Linked DNA regions of Homo sapiens: region 1 is linked to region 2. The links are contacts of gene promoters, found by promoter capture Hi-C in human tissues and cell types (Jung and others, 2019). All regions are on one chromosome and are shown on one strand. Each heading gives the region's core, a stretch centred on a gene start or on the middle of the fragment in contact. The rest is flanking DNA. Distances are from core to core; before and after follow the strand shown. Region 1 has its middle 110 kb from the start of MTDH. Region 2 holds the start of SDC2 (syndecan 2).

Evidence for each region. The method cuts DNA at HindIII sites, captures the fragments that hold promoters and counts their contacts. A contact is called where the count stands out against the background at its distance.
Region 1: a contact is called between a fragment that was not itself captured here and the fragment with the promoter of SDC2 in region 2, in 1 of the 25 tissues and cell types used here (dorsolateral prefrontal cortex).

The regions. Positions count from the first base shown.
Region 1 is chr8:97,533,674-97,539,862 of GRCh38, forward strand. No RefSeq gene overlaps it. Among named protein-coding and RNA genes, the nearest start is that of MTDH, 110 kb to the right of the region's middle. The HindIII fragment of the contact is 4,277 bases long and covers 1-3,627 here.
Region 2 is chr8:96,490,717-96,497,271 of GRCh38, forward strand. It overlaps SDC2 (syndecan 2), which reads left to right and starts at 3,097. Exons shown (of 5, transcript NM_002998.4): 1 at 3,097-3,615. The coding sequence starts at 3,556. The HindIII fragment of the contact is 18,592 bases long and covers 1-6,555 here.

The DNA.
Region 1 (6,189 bases), core at 239-2,738, 1.0 Mb after region 2:
ATAATTAATAGCCTACCAACCAAAAAAAGTCCAGGACCAGACAGATTCACAGCTGAATTCTACTATAGGTACAAAGAGGAGCTGGTACCATTCCTTCTGAAACTATTCCAAACAATAGAGAAAGAGGGATTCCTCCCTAACTCATTTTATGAGGCCAGCATCATCCTGATACCAAAACCTGGCAGAGACACAAGAAAAAGAGAAAATTTCAGGCCAATATCCCTGAAGAACATCGATGCAAAAACCCTCAATAAAATACTGGCAAACTGAATCCAGCAGCACATCAAAAAGCTTATCCACCATGATCAAGTTGGCTTCATCCCTGGGATGCAAGGCTGGTTCAACATACACAAATCAATAAACATAATCCATCACATAAACAGAACCAATGACAAAAAACACATGATTATCTCAATAGATGCAGAAAAGGCCTTTGATAAAATTCTACACCCTTTCATGCTAAAAACACTCAATAAACTAGGTATTGACAAAATTCAACAGCCCTTCATTCTAAAAACACTCAATAAACTAGGCATTGATGGAACATATCTCAAAATAATAAGAGCTACTTATGACAAACCCAGAGCCAATATCATACTGAATGGGCAAAAGCTGGAAGCACTCCCTTTGAAAACCAGCACAAGACAAGGATGCCCTCTCTCACCACTCCTATTCAACATAGTATTAGAAGTTCTGGCCAGGGCAACCAGGCAAGAGAAAGAAATAAAGCGTATTCAAATAGGAAGAGAGGAAGCCAAATTATCTCTGTTCGTAGATGACATGATTGTATATTTAGAAAACCCCATCATCAGGCTGGGCACAGTGGCTCTCACCTGTAATCCCAGCACTTTGGGAGGCCGAGGCAGGCAGATCACGAGGTCAGGAATTCGAGACCAGCCTGGCCTACATAGTGAAACCTCATCTCTACTAAGATACAAAAAAAACCTCATCTCTACTAAGATACAAAAAATTAGCTGGGCATGGTGGCAGGCACCAGTAGTCCCAGCTACCTGGGAGGCTGAGGCAGGAGAATTGCTTGAACCCAGGAAGCAGAAGTTGCAGTGAGCCGAGATCGCACCATTACACTCCAGCCCAGGCGACAGTGCAAGATTCTGTCTCAAAAAAAAAGAAAAGAAAAGAAAAGAAAAGCCCATCATCTCAGCCCAAAAACTCCTTAAGCTGACAAGCAACTTCAGTGAAGTCTCTGGCTACAAATCAATGTGCAAAAATCACAAGCATTCCATACACCAATAATAGACAAAGAAAGAGCCAAATCATGAGCAAACTCCCAATCACAATTGCTACAAAAAGAATAAAATACCTAGGAATACAACTTACAAGGCAGGTGAAGGACCTCTTCAGGCAGAACTACAAACCACTGCTCAAGGAAATAAGAGAGGACACAAAAAAATGGAAAAACATTCCATGCTCATGGATAGGAAGCATCAATATAGTGAAAATGGCCATACTGCCCAAAGTAACTTACAGATTCAATGTTATTCCCATCAAGCTACCATTGACTTTCTTCACAGAATTAGAAAAAACTACTTTAAATTTCATATGGAACAAAAAAAAGAGCCCACATAGCCAAGATAATCCTAAGCAAAAAGAACAAAGCTGGAGGCATCACACTACCTGACTTCAAACTATACTACAAGGATACAGTAACCAAAACACCCTAGTACTGGTACCAAAACAGATATATAGACTAATGGAACAGAACAGAGCCCTCAGAAATAACACCACACATCTACAACCATCTGATCTTTGACAAACATGACAAAAACAAGAAATGGGGAAAGGATTCCCTATTTAATAAATGATGTTGGGAAAACTGGCTAGCCATATGCAGAAAACTGAAACTGAACCTCTTCCTTACACCATATACAAAAATTAGTTCAAGATGGATTAAAGATTTAAACATAAGACCTAAAACCATAAAAACCCTAGAAGAAAACCTAGGCAATACCATTCAGGACATAGGCATGGGCAAAGCTTCATGACTAAAACACCAAAAGCAACTGCAACAAAAGCCAAAATTGACAAATGGGATCTAATTAAACTAAAGAGCTTCTGCACAGCAAAAGAAACTATCGTCAGAGTGAACAGGCAACCTACAGAGTGGGAGAACATTTTTGCAATCTATCCATCTGACAAAGGGCTAATATCCAGAAGCTACAAAGAACTTAAACAAATTTACACGAAAAAAACCAAACAACCCTATCAAAAAGTGGGCAAAGGATATGAACAGACACTTCTCAAAAGAACACATTTACACAGCCAACAAACATATGAAAAAAAGCTCATCATCACTGGTCATTAGAGAAATGCAAATCAAAACCACAATGAGATACCATCTCACGCCAGTTAGAATGGCGATCATTAAAAAGTCAGGAAACAACAGATGCTGGAGAGGATGTGGAGAAATAGGAACACTTTTACACTGTTGGTGGGAGTGTAAATTAGTTCAACCATTGTGGAAGACAGTGTGGCGATTCCTCAACGATCTGGAGCTAGAAATACCATTTGACCCAGCAATCCCATTACTGGGTATACACCCAAAGGATTATAAATCATTCTGTTGTAAAGACACATGCATACGTATGTTTATTGCAGCACTATTCACAATAGAAAAGACTTGGAACCAACCCAAATGCCCATGAATGTTAGACTGGATTAAGAAAATGTGGCACATATACACCATGGAAAACTGTGCAGCCATAAAAAACAATGAGTCCATGTCCTTTGCAGGGACATGGATGAAGCTGGAAACCATCATTCTCAGCAAACTAACACAGGAACAGAAAACCAAACACCACATGTTCTCACTCATAACTGGGAGTTGAACAATGAGAACATATGGGCACAGGGAGGGGAACATCACACACCGGGGCCTGTTGGGAAGTGGGGGGAAAGTGGAGTGATAGCATTAGGAGAAATACCTAATATAGATGACGGGTTGATGGGTGCAGCAAACCACCATGGCACGTGTATACCCATGTAACAAACCCGCACGTTCTGCACATGTATCCCAGAACTTAAAGTACAATTTTAAAAAAAGATTGTTTCCACGTTTGAGTTATGATAAATAACAATGTGATGAACACTTGAGCATAAATCTTGGCCTGTCCATGAGGTTATTTTATTTGGATAAGTAAGAAAAATACAATAGTACAGTTTTTCACACCATGTTTTAATGAGATACCACTTTCTATTCTCCCCCTTTTTTTGACATTCCATGTCCTTTTATTCTTTGTGACCTTTCTTTACTGGGTGACTTTAGCAATTTCTGGATATGCTTTTGGGCTTCTGTCTTGTCTTATTTTGAAAGATTCTTCTGGGGATTCTATTTTCACTGAGTCATTTCAGTTGTCCTGGCCATTTGATTTGAGCTCTTAATCGAGAACAGCATTCTCTTGGTGCTGATGCAATCTCTTATTATCTTATATCCTATTATACTTTACAAGTCATTCCCCAGGATCTTTCAGTACATAACTTGGATCTTACATTTTCGTCTTCTTCTAATACCCTTGCCTGTTCAAAGCATATATTAAAATGGGTAGAAAACAGCCTTTACAACACAAACCTGCACTTTCTGAACTCTTTTTCCATGGGAAATCCTTCATGCTTAGAGAGAAAGTACAACCTTGTATAATTCTTTTAGATCAGAGTTTCACTGGGGAACATGGCAGAGTTACTGAGATTTGCACTTATTAGCATCCAAGTTGTAGTTAAACACCTTTCTATATTCAATGCTTGAGCAAAACAGGCCCACAGATCTATACCAGCTATCTCCCTATGGCTACGTTAAATGAAGCCAAATTTTAAAGTGTTAGAAAACACAAAAAGATTTCAAACATATCCAAGGGATTTCATTTCTTAAGAATTCACACTTTACTCTGGCATTTTCAGGATCTGAAAAAAAAATCAGTTCAGAGGCTGTTCATTTCTTTGTTTGTTGGTTTGTTTGTTTTAAAACTCTGTGATTTAAGGGTCAGTGTCCTTTAGAAAGCTCCAGGGGGCATTCAGCCCCCAACACTACATGGCTGCCACTGTTTCCACCACAGCTTCCCCATCCATTCTGCATGAGGGCTTACTAAATACCACTACAGGGACAGAGGTCCAGCGTGGTCCACAATCAGTCCCATCAGCCTGGCATTCAGCAGAGTTTTAGACAAAATCAATGTTTCTCTGCCCTGCTATGAAACCTGCATAAAGAGACTTCCCCATGAATAAACATATCTGATAAGATTACATAGATCATTCCACTGGGGGAAATTGAGGCTATTTAAAATGCAACCTTTCTCATCCTGCTGTAAACTCCACAGCATTCATTTTATTGAGAAAATGAACTTGACCAGGGCTAAAATGTGGCCCAAATGTATCTGGATGATTATGGTTGTGTGAAAATATTGAAATATTTACTAACTGGTACTGTCTGTTTACAGTACCAATATCTGTTTCCAGCATACCTGGCCCCGGACATCAGGCCCCTCCCTAGACCCCTACCTCCCCATGATCCAGCAACTGGTAAAGAGTTAGCATCTGGCACAGAAGGAGCCTCTAGCTCCTTAATCTAGCAACACTGGGTCAGGGTCCATTTTGATTGATGATCTAGTTCAGGAGTAATAAATATTTTGAATATCTTCTTGAATGGGACTAATGTGTCAGCTAACCTCAAAAAAATCATGGAATATGTGTTTACTATAGTTTTAGTGGAGTGTTATTTTATTCTCACCTTCAATTATACAACAAATGTTTATTAGGCACCTGCTCGGTGTTGAGCAGGGCACAGTCCTGGATGCTTACAATCTAGTAACAAAGAGAGGTAACTAAATAAATTTCAATCCTGTGTAAGAAGGCTACATAGAAGCAGGTACAGTGTGCTATGATAGCTCAGAGGAGAGGCCTTATACAGGTTTACAGGAGGAAGCAACGGTAAACATGAAACTTCAGGGGCAAGCCTACATAAGCCACGTTAATAGGGGTGGGGACAGGTGTTGTATGGGGAAGGTACAAGCACAGTAAACAGCCTACAGAAAGGCCTAGAAGCCAAAGAGAAGCAGGCAAGTTCAGGGAGCTACAAGGAGTTCCTTGGGGATGGACAGAGGGAAGTGATGAGAAAGAAGCTGTGGCGTTAAGCCGAAGAATGAACTGCTTTTTCCATCTCACAGTTGCATCTAAGCTGAGGATGCACTGTAATTGGCTATTTTCATCCCTGGGTATCTTAGAGTACTTGTGGTAGCAAGCTATATTCAAGCTTGCCAAGGTTCTGCTGAGCATTTGACTCCTAAGACTGCTCTGGAGGTCTACTAAGATCCCCCTGCATGGTAAACCCAACAGCTATGAAGAAGATATGCAGCAAGGGGCTGATAGTTCGTTCCAGGGGGACAGGGCCTCGCCAGGCTGATGGCTCCAGCATGGAGCCTAGCACCACAGGCACCCAGTGAAAATCTGTTGAATTAATACATGAATGGAGGCATGAATGGTAGGTAATAAGTGACAGTGACAGTTTTTAAGATGATGTTCTCAATAAGTGCATCACAAATACTTGACTCAGTGATCACAACAACTCAATAGTCACTGCTTCCATTTCAGAGTGATACTTTGGCCGGGCACAGTGGCTCACATCTGTAATCCCAGCACTTTGGGAGGCCAAGACAGGAGTTTTGAGACAAGCTTGAGCCCAGGAGTTTTGAGACAAGCTTGGGCAACATAAGGAGATCCTGTCTCTACAAAACATTTTAAAATTAGCCAGATATGGTGGCACATACCTGTAGTCCCAGTTAGTCAAGAGGCTGAGGTGGGAGGATTACTTGAGCCCAGGAGTTGGAGGCTGCAGTGAACTATGATCATGCCACTGCACTCTGGCCTGGGTGACAGAGAGAGATCCCATCTCTTAAAACAAAAAAAAGAAGTGATGCTTTTAACATATTTTAAGAGAAAAGATAAACACTTTACTAATTGTCTCTATCTCCAAACTGTCCTCATTGCTTGTTTTTCAAAGCCTGGAATGTGTGATGAGAGCCTTGCCACCATTTCACTCTTTTCTTCATCCATTGCCTCTTGTTCCTCAACCCCCTCTGGCTCCTCTTCCTCCTCATTCTTAAGTGGCTGGCATTCTAGAATTACCAACTCTTCCTAACTTTCCAGAATGTTTGTGGTTTTAGCATTGAAAATCCACATCCC
Region 2 (6,555 bases), core at 1,847-4,346:
AAAAACTGTCTTTAGTAGCTTTCATTTCTATTTTTTCACTTGTCTGGTTCTCTTTATTTTTTATTTGTTTTTACATGTTTGCATCTTAATCTCTATGTTGTTTATTTTTAATATTTTCTCCTGAGACTCTTGAAGTGTGGTAATTATTCTTTTAGCAATCAATGAAGCTATTTGGGAAGTGATTGGTTAAGCTGTGCCCCTCAAAGCATAGCCCTCAAAACCTGAGGACTTGAAGTATATTTGCAAAGAACCTTTGGTTCTAGTCACAAGCTATACTTAGTGAATTAGATATACTACACAAAATTCTGCCAAATTTTAGTCCCCATCAGTTTTTTAAACATTTCCAATTAGCAAAACACACAAACAGGCCTACATCGTTTGCGAATTTAGACAAATCCTGACTAATACCAGCGGACCTCCCCTGACTTCTGTCCCCATCCCCACTCAGCATGGGTGACCTCTTTGTAGCCAGCTCTTGTGTAAGTGCTTTTTATACTGTCAGATTATCCTTCTTGCCACAGCTGTTAATAAATCTGAACACAAGATCTTGAATATTTGTTTTCATCTCCTTAATATTGTGTCACTCAAAATGGTACCAATTCCCTTATTATATATACTCTCAATGGAGTATTTATCATCTTTAAAGAAACAAGTCACTGAGCATCTCATCAACACCAAGAGCCTTGGGGTGTGCCTTCAGGGCAGCAAACAGATAATATCCCTTCAACACGTGTATCCACTTATTCATTTTTTATCACTGTCTGCCCAAGCTGAATCAGAGAGCATTCACCACGCTTCTTGTTACATGGGTGCCCCAGTAAACAGCAATAACTGTGAGAACCAGCAAATCAGTGGAGTGCACTTCCTGTTTTACTGGAATTCCAATTTATTTGATGAATACTTAACTGTTGGGGACAATGGAGGTGTGGCCTTGCCTGAAGGCTGGCGAGTAGACGAGGCCTCTTATGAGGACAGAGCTGGTATTTTATGGCTCTTTGCATGTATTTTGCATTGCTGCTTTTCCTTTGGAGGCCTTTTTAAGAAGTCTCCCCATCTCATGAACCTCTTCAACCCACAGACTCCATCTTAAAAATAAGGGCACTAGGCTGGTGGCTCACGTGTCTAATCCCAGGACTTTGGGAGGCTGAGGCAGGCAGATCACTTGAGCCCAAGAGTTTGAGACCAGCCTGGGCAACAATGGAAAACCCTGTCTCTATAAAAAACACAAAAATTAGCTGGTGTGGTGGCCTGTGCCTGTAGTCCCAGCTACTTGGTAAGCTGAGGTGGGAGGACTGCTTGAGCCTGAGAGGTAGAGGCTACAGTGCAGGCCACTGCACTCCAGCCTGGGCAAGAATGAGACCCTGTCTCAAAAAAAAAAAAAAAAAAAAAAAAGGCTGTGGTTCATTCTTTCAAAAGCTAAGTGGAGCCCACATTGGCACAGATGCCAGCTACAGTGTCTGTGGAATCAGAAGCATCATCTGATGTTACAACTTCTGGCCTATTGCTCTTTTTCTTCTTTCTCCTTTGCCTACTCTTCTATTTCTCCATATTACCTTTTTGTTGGCCAATGCCTTAGACTTGCTCATGAGCATTTGTAGGTTTGGTAGCTGGCACACAAAACCAAAGGAATAAGTGTCTCCAAGTTTGAGTTGTAATTCTCCAGTTAAATTTCTTTCTTTGAGATTTATTACAGTAATAGGTTACTAAGACATTTAATTCTCACTGAGGGTATGACTGTATTTTATTCTAATACTGAGTTGAAAAATTACCATGGCCTCATATCTATATATCTACATTGGTGTATTTTAAAGGCTCACAACTCTTATACGGTATAAATTGAGCTTTAGAGCAAAATTTATTCAAGATAATATTTATCATGTGTCTTTATGTACCAGGAATGAGAATACAATGGTGAACAGACAGAAAAGTCTCTGGTTTCCTGTAGTGGGCATTCCAGGAGCAGAATGGCGTCATAATTCATTTACTCTATAAGTCAGAGAGAAAAATGATGGCACGAACTGCAAGGGATTTGTGTGTAAAATTTGTGACAGTAAGAAAAAGAAACTGGAAGGGAATACGCATTTGCCATGTTCTATAATATGCCACAGACATTGTAACAAAATATTTCATGTCAGCTACTTCCATTTAGGAAATACATGTTCATTATTTTCTTCAAACTAAGAATTACTTTATCCCTCTTTTCTTTGAAGTTATCTTAAATCTGTTATTATTCAGGGTCTCTATCCAACTTCTCATCAAATTACCCTATTTGTAGCTTCCAAACGTTAACACCTATCTGCTAAAATGGAGCCTATAAAAAGCCTTAGTGGCATAAACTGTGTGTGAGGGAGAAATGGTATTTAAGCCCTTAATGAAGTTAGGAGCTTTCAAACTGTTGCACTTTGGGTTTACAGGATCCTTCCTCCATGTCCCTTTTTTGGGGGTGCGGAAGGATTTGGGAGAATGGGAAACACTCTCACTATATATTTATTACATTAATTATCTTCTCTTTTAAAATGCAATTTTCATGAACTGGCGATTTATGAACACTTCACATTGCTTGAAAGCATCTTACACTTTTTTTTTCCCTCAACTCACAAAGCAGTTTCTTTCTACTGGTCGAATTCTCAAGGCAGAAAAGCTACATACGTCTCTCGTTTCTTCACTAATTGTTCTCTAGAAAAGGGAAAGTGAAGAAGGGAAAGAGAAAAGACAACGGGGAAGAAAAGAGCATAGAGGAGAGAGGAAAAGTGGGGAGAGAAAGGAAGAAAAGGACTGAGAAAACGCAGGAGCCCTGGCTTGCCGGTGAGCAGAGCCGGCGCAGCCACAGCGCGGAGCCGCGGCGCCCACTGGTCCTCGGAGCTGCCAATCGGCGTGTAATCCTGTAGGAATTTCTCCCGGGTTTATCTGGGAGTCACACTGCCGCCTCCTCTCCCCAGTCGCCCAGGGGAGCCCGGAGAAGCAGGCTCAGGAGGGAGGGAGCCAGAGGAAAAGAAGAGGAGGAGAAGGAGGAGGACCCGGGGAGGGAGGCGCGGCGCGGGAGGAGGAGGGGCGCAGCCGCGGAGCCAGTGGCCCCGCTTGGACGCGCTGCTCTCCAGATACCCCCGGAGCTCCAGCCGCGCGGATCGCGCGCTCCCGCCGCTCTGCCCCTAAACTTCTGCCGTAGCTCCCTTTCAAGCCAGCGAATTTATTCCTTAAAACCAGAAACTGAACCTCGGCACGGGAAAGGAGTCCGCGGAGGAGCAAAACCACAGCAGAGCAAGAAGAGCTTCAGAGAGCAGCCTTCCCGGAGCACCAACTCCGTGTCGGGAGTGCAGAAACCAACAAGTGAGAGGGCGCCGCGTTCCCGGGGCGCAGCTGCGGGCGGCGGGAGCAGGCGCAGGAGGAGGAAGCGAGCGCCCCCGAGCCCCGAGCCCGAGTCCCCGAGCCTGAGCCGCAATCGCTGCGGTACTCTGCTCCGGATTCGTGTGCGCGGGCTGCGCCGAGCGCTGGGCAGGAGGCTTCGTTTTGCCCTGGTTGCAAGCAGCGGCTGGGAGCAGCCGGTCCCTGGGGAATATGCGGCGCGCGTGGATCCTGCTCACCTTGGGCTTGGTGGCCTGCGTGTCGGCGGAGTCGGTGAGTGGGCCAGGCGGAGGATGCGCGCGCCGTTTAGGGTGTTTGAAGCTACGAGAGGAGCCCGCAGGGAATAGGGGAGCGCCACCTGGGGAACCCCCAGTCCCCAAGTATACACCGGAGATCCGCTGGGACAAATGCGCTCGTCCGGTCACCCTTTCCCCCTCTTCCCTTCCTCAGAAAAGCGCTGCTCGCTGGCGTTACCCCGCGGTCCGCGGGAATGGGGGCACCGAGAATTGCGGTTTGGTCTAGCCGCAGAGGCCCCTGAAGTCACTCCCAACTTCTTCGCCCTCGGCGGGTCTTGCTGCGTGGTCTGGGAAGGACGGAGGGGAAAGGGTGGCAGGAGGGGGGAGCCTGGGTCGGGCCCGCGAGGGAACGGCTCCACTCCGCGCGCTCCTCGAGACCAGGGATGACCTGGAAACTTCGGGGTCCCTTCCTCCGCACACCATCCCCCCCGCGCCAGCTTTCCTGTTTGACTGCATGCAAGTTCTGGGGAGATGGGGGCCAGATTTAAGAGACCCGCGAGTGTCCAGAGAGAAAAGTTTGCAAAAGTTCTTTTGTTTGATGCTCCCTGCGGCTAGGGCGAGGTAACCGACACTACGTGGAATCGCAGTAGGCGATCCCTCAAGGGGATACTGGGGGAGGCACGGAACGCGTCCGAAAATGCTGGGACGCCGGCCACTGGATTCCCAGTCCTGCGGCGACCCCCTCCTCGTTGAGGGGTGGAGGTTGCACCGCGGGGCGTCAGGGACGGGAGGACATTTTCATAGGAGTTACACGGGAGTGCCGCAAGCAGGGCGAGGCGGGGTACGTGTGACACGGCGCTCGGCTTCGGGTCGCCTGGCCGCTGGGGGACAGAGGCTTCCCTCCCGCCACGCTCGCCCTCTCTGGCCCTGGCGGGGCGCTTCTGGGGCCGGGAGGAGTCTCGTCTCCGGCGGAGCGCCTGCCGGCACCCAGCTTCCCTCCCCCGCCCTGGCGGTGGGAACTTGATTTCTCCTTTTGGTCGCGCTTCGGGGGCTGGAGCTTGTTTCCCCACGTCGCCCAATGAGCGCCCTCTAAAGGGAACTGCCTCCTTGGCCTCCTCTCGTCCGCAGCTGCCTCCACCTGGGCGCCAGGAGCTCTGTCGGGCCAGGTGGAAGCTTGAGCACCCCAGATTTCGTCTGCAGCCTCAGTGCCCTCTGGGGTCTCAGGGAGTGCGGCTGTTTCTGGCCCTTCTGGTTCCCCACGTCCTCTCCCTTTGCCATTTAATAACGTGTCAATTTCTAATTAATTGAATGGTCTTTTCAAAGACAAATTATATCATCTTAAGGTCTTTTAGGTAGTTTTATGAGTTTGAGTCTCCCTCCCCCCCTTTTTTGTGCTGAGGCTAATTTAGGACTGGGAAACCTCTTTGGCATCGAGCGGCAGATGGACATTTTTAATCAGTGTGGGAGCCTCTGTGTGTGCTAGCAGATCCCCATACGTTCTTTGTGGTTGGAGAGCATGTAGAATTGGAAACTGTACAGACTACATGAGTATTTTGGGTGCTCAGGTTGTAAAATAGAACTCCCAGCCTTATCAGTGTTTCCCTTTGGCAAATGATGGTTTAATCCGTTGGTATTAGTTATCTCCCAGCCAGTTAGGATGAACTTTGGCTCTTTGTACACCAAAAGGCAGCAGTTCTCTTGTTTATTTCAGATGAGCGTTGTTGCTCCTCTTGTTGCAAAACAGGGCAAAGGGACTTCATCTAATAAATTTCAAGAGCCTGCCTAAAAAACTGCACATGGTTAAGGAGGCCCTTTTTTTTTGCTGAGTCTTATTCATGGATTTGCTAGGAAATGTTACTGTTTTGGGATTCTGGAGAAAGAATGTTTCTGTCTTCTGCTCCTCTGGGTTTTTGCATAAATCTACCAGTGCTCCTTAAGGAAGTTTTTTGGCCGAACTATATACCTGTCCTCCCCGGTGACAGCTTTCCCCTGAACTGTGTATCTTTGGGGTTCTAATATTTCTCAATTTGAACCAGAACTGGATGCTTTCCGAGTGAACTGCTTCATTGTGATAGACACTGTTTTCAGTAATTGGAAAATCATCCAAAAAGGGTGATTAGATATTTATAAAATGTCAACTTAGAGACTAGCAGAGAATCTTTGTTAGGCAGTGAGTCAGTCTTTCTAAATAGAAGCTGTTTCAAGGCCCAGAATGGCTAACAGTCCATTTAAATTACTTTTCAGTCTCCGTTTGTTTCATGTATAGCAGCAAAAATATAAATGAAGTCAAAAGACTGAATTTAAAAAAAAATTAGCAATTACAGAATATTATTTCCAGGACTTTGCATTTTAATTTGAAAACTGCAACTGTTTCCTGGGATTTAGAAGTAGTGATTTGGGTTTAAAGTCTCCCTTTAAAGGAAGAAAGGAAAACTGCCTACAGTTAGTGAATTCTTAAGTTTTATACTTAGCTCTGGGGGTAAAAAAGAGGTTCTCAGGAACTAAGGCTCAAAACTGCCTATGAAAAGGAACTGGTAGCTGTTCCTTTATGGATCCTGGAGGCAGCTGGGAAAGCCTGTTCCTAGTGATCCATTCATACTTTCCACTGGCAGGTTAGGACTTTGGCTGCGGAGCACCAGGCAAGGGGAAAATCTGACTGAGTGTGGCAGTAGTGATATGCTGCTGGTTTTCTGTCCATTTTGTACATGACTGTTTATCTTTAGAAATAATATATTGCAGACTGCTATAAACACATAATTTGAACTGGAAATATGTTTAAGAAAAGGAAGTGTTTTGAACTAGAGGAATTTTATAAACATTCTTAGATGTCTGTAAATTAAAAGAAACTGTCAAGTCATTTGGGCCCATGCATTATCTCTCGGTGTATTATGAAAGGCAGGCTCTGGAAAGTTTGCATTAGAAGGGTAACTAAAATCGAAATCATGTAACTTTGCAGTTCTTTAGAAAATATAGTTTG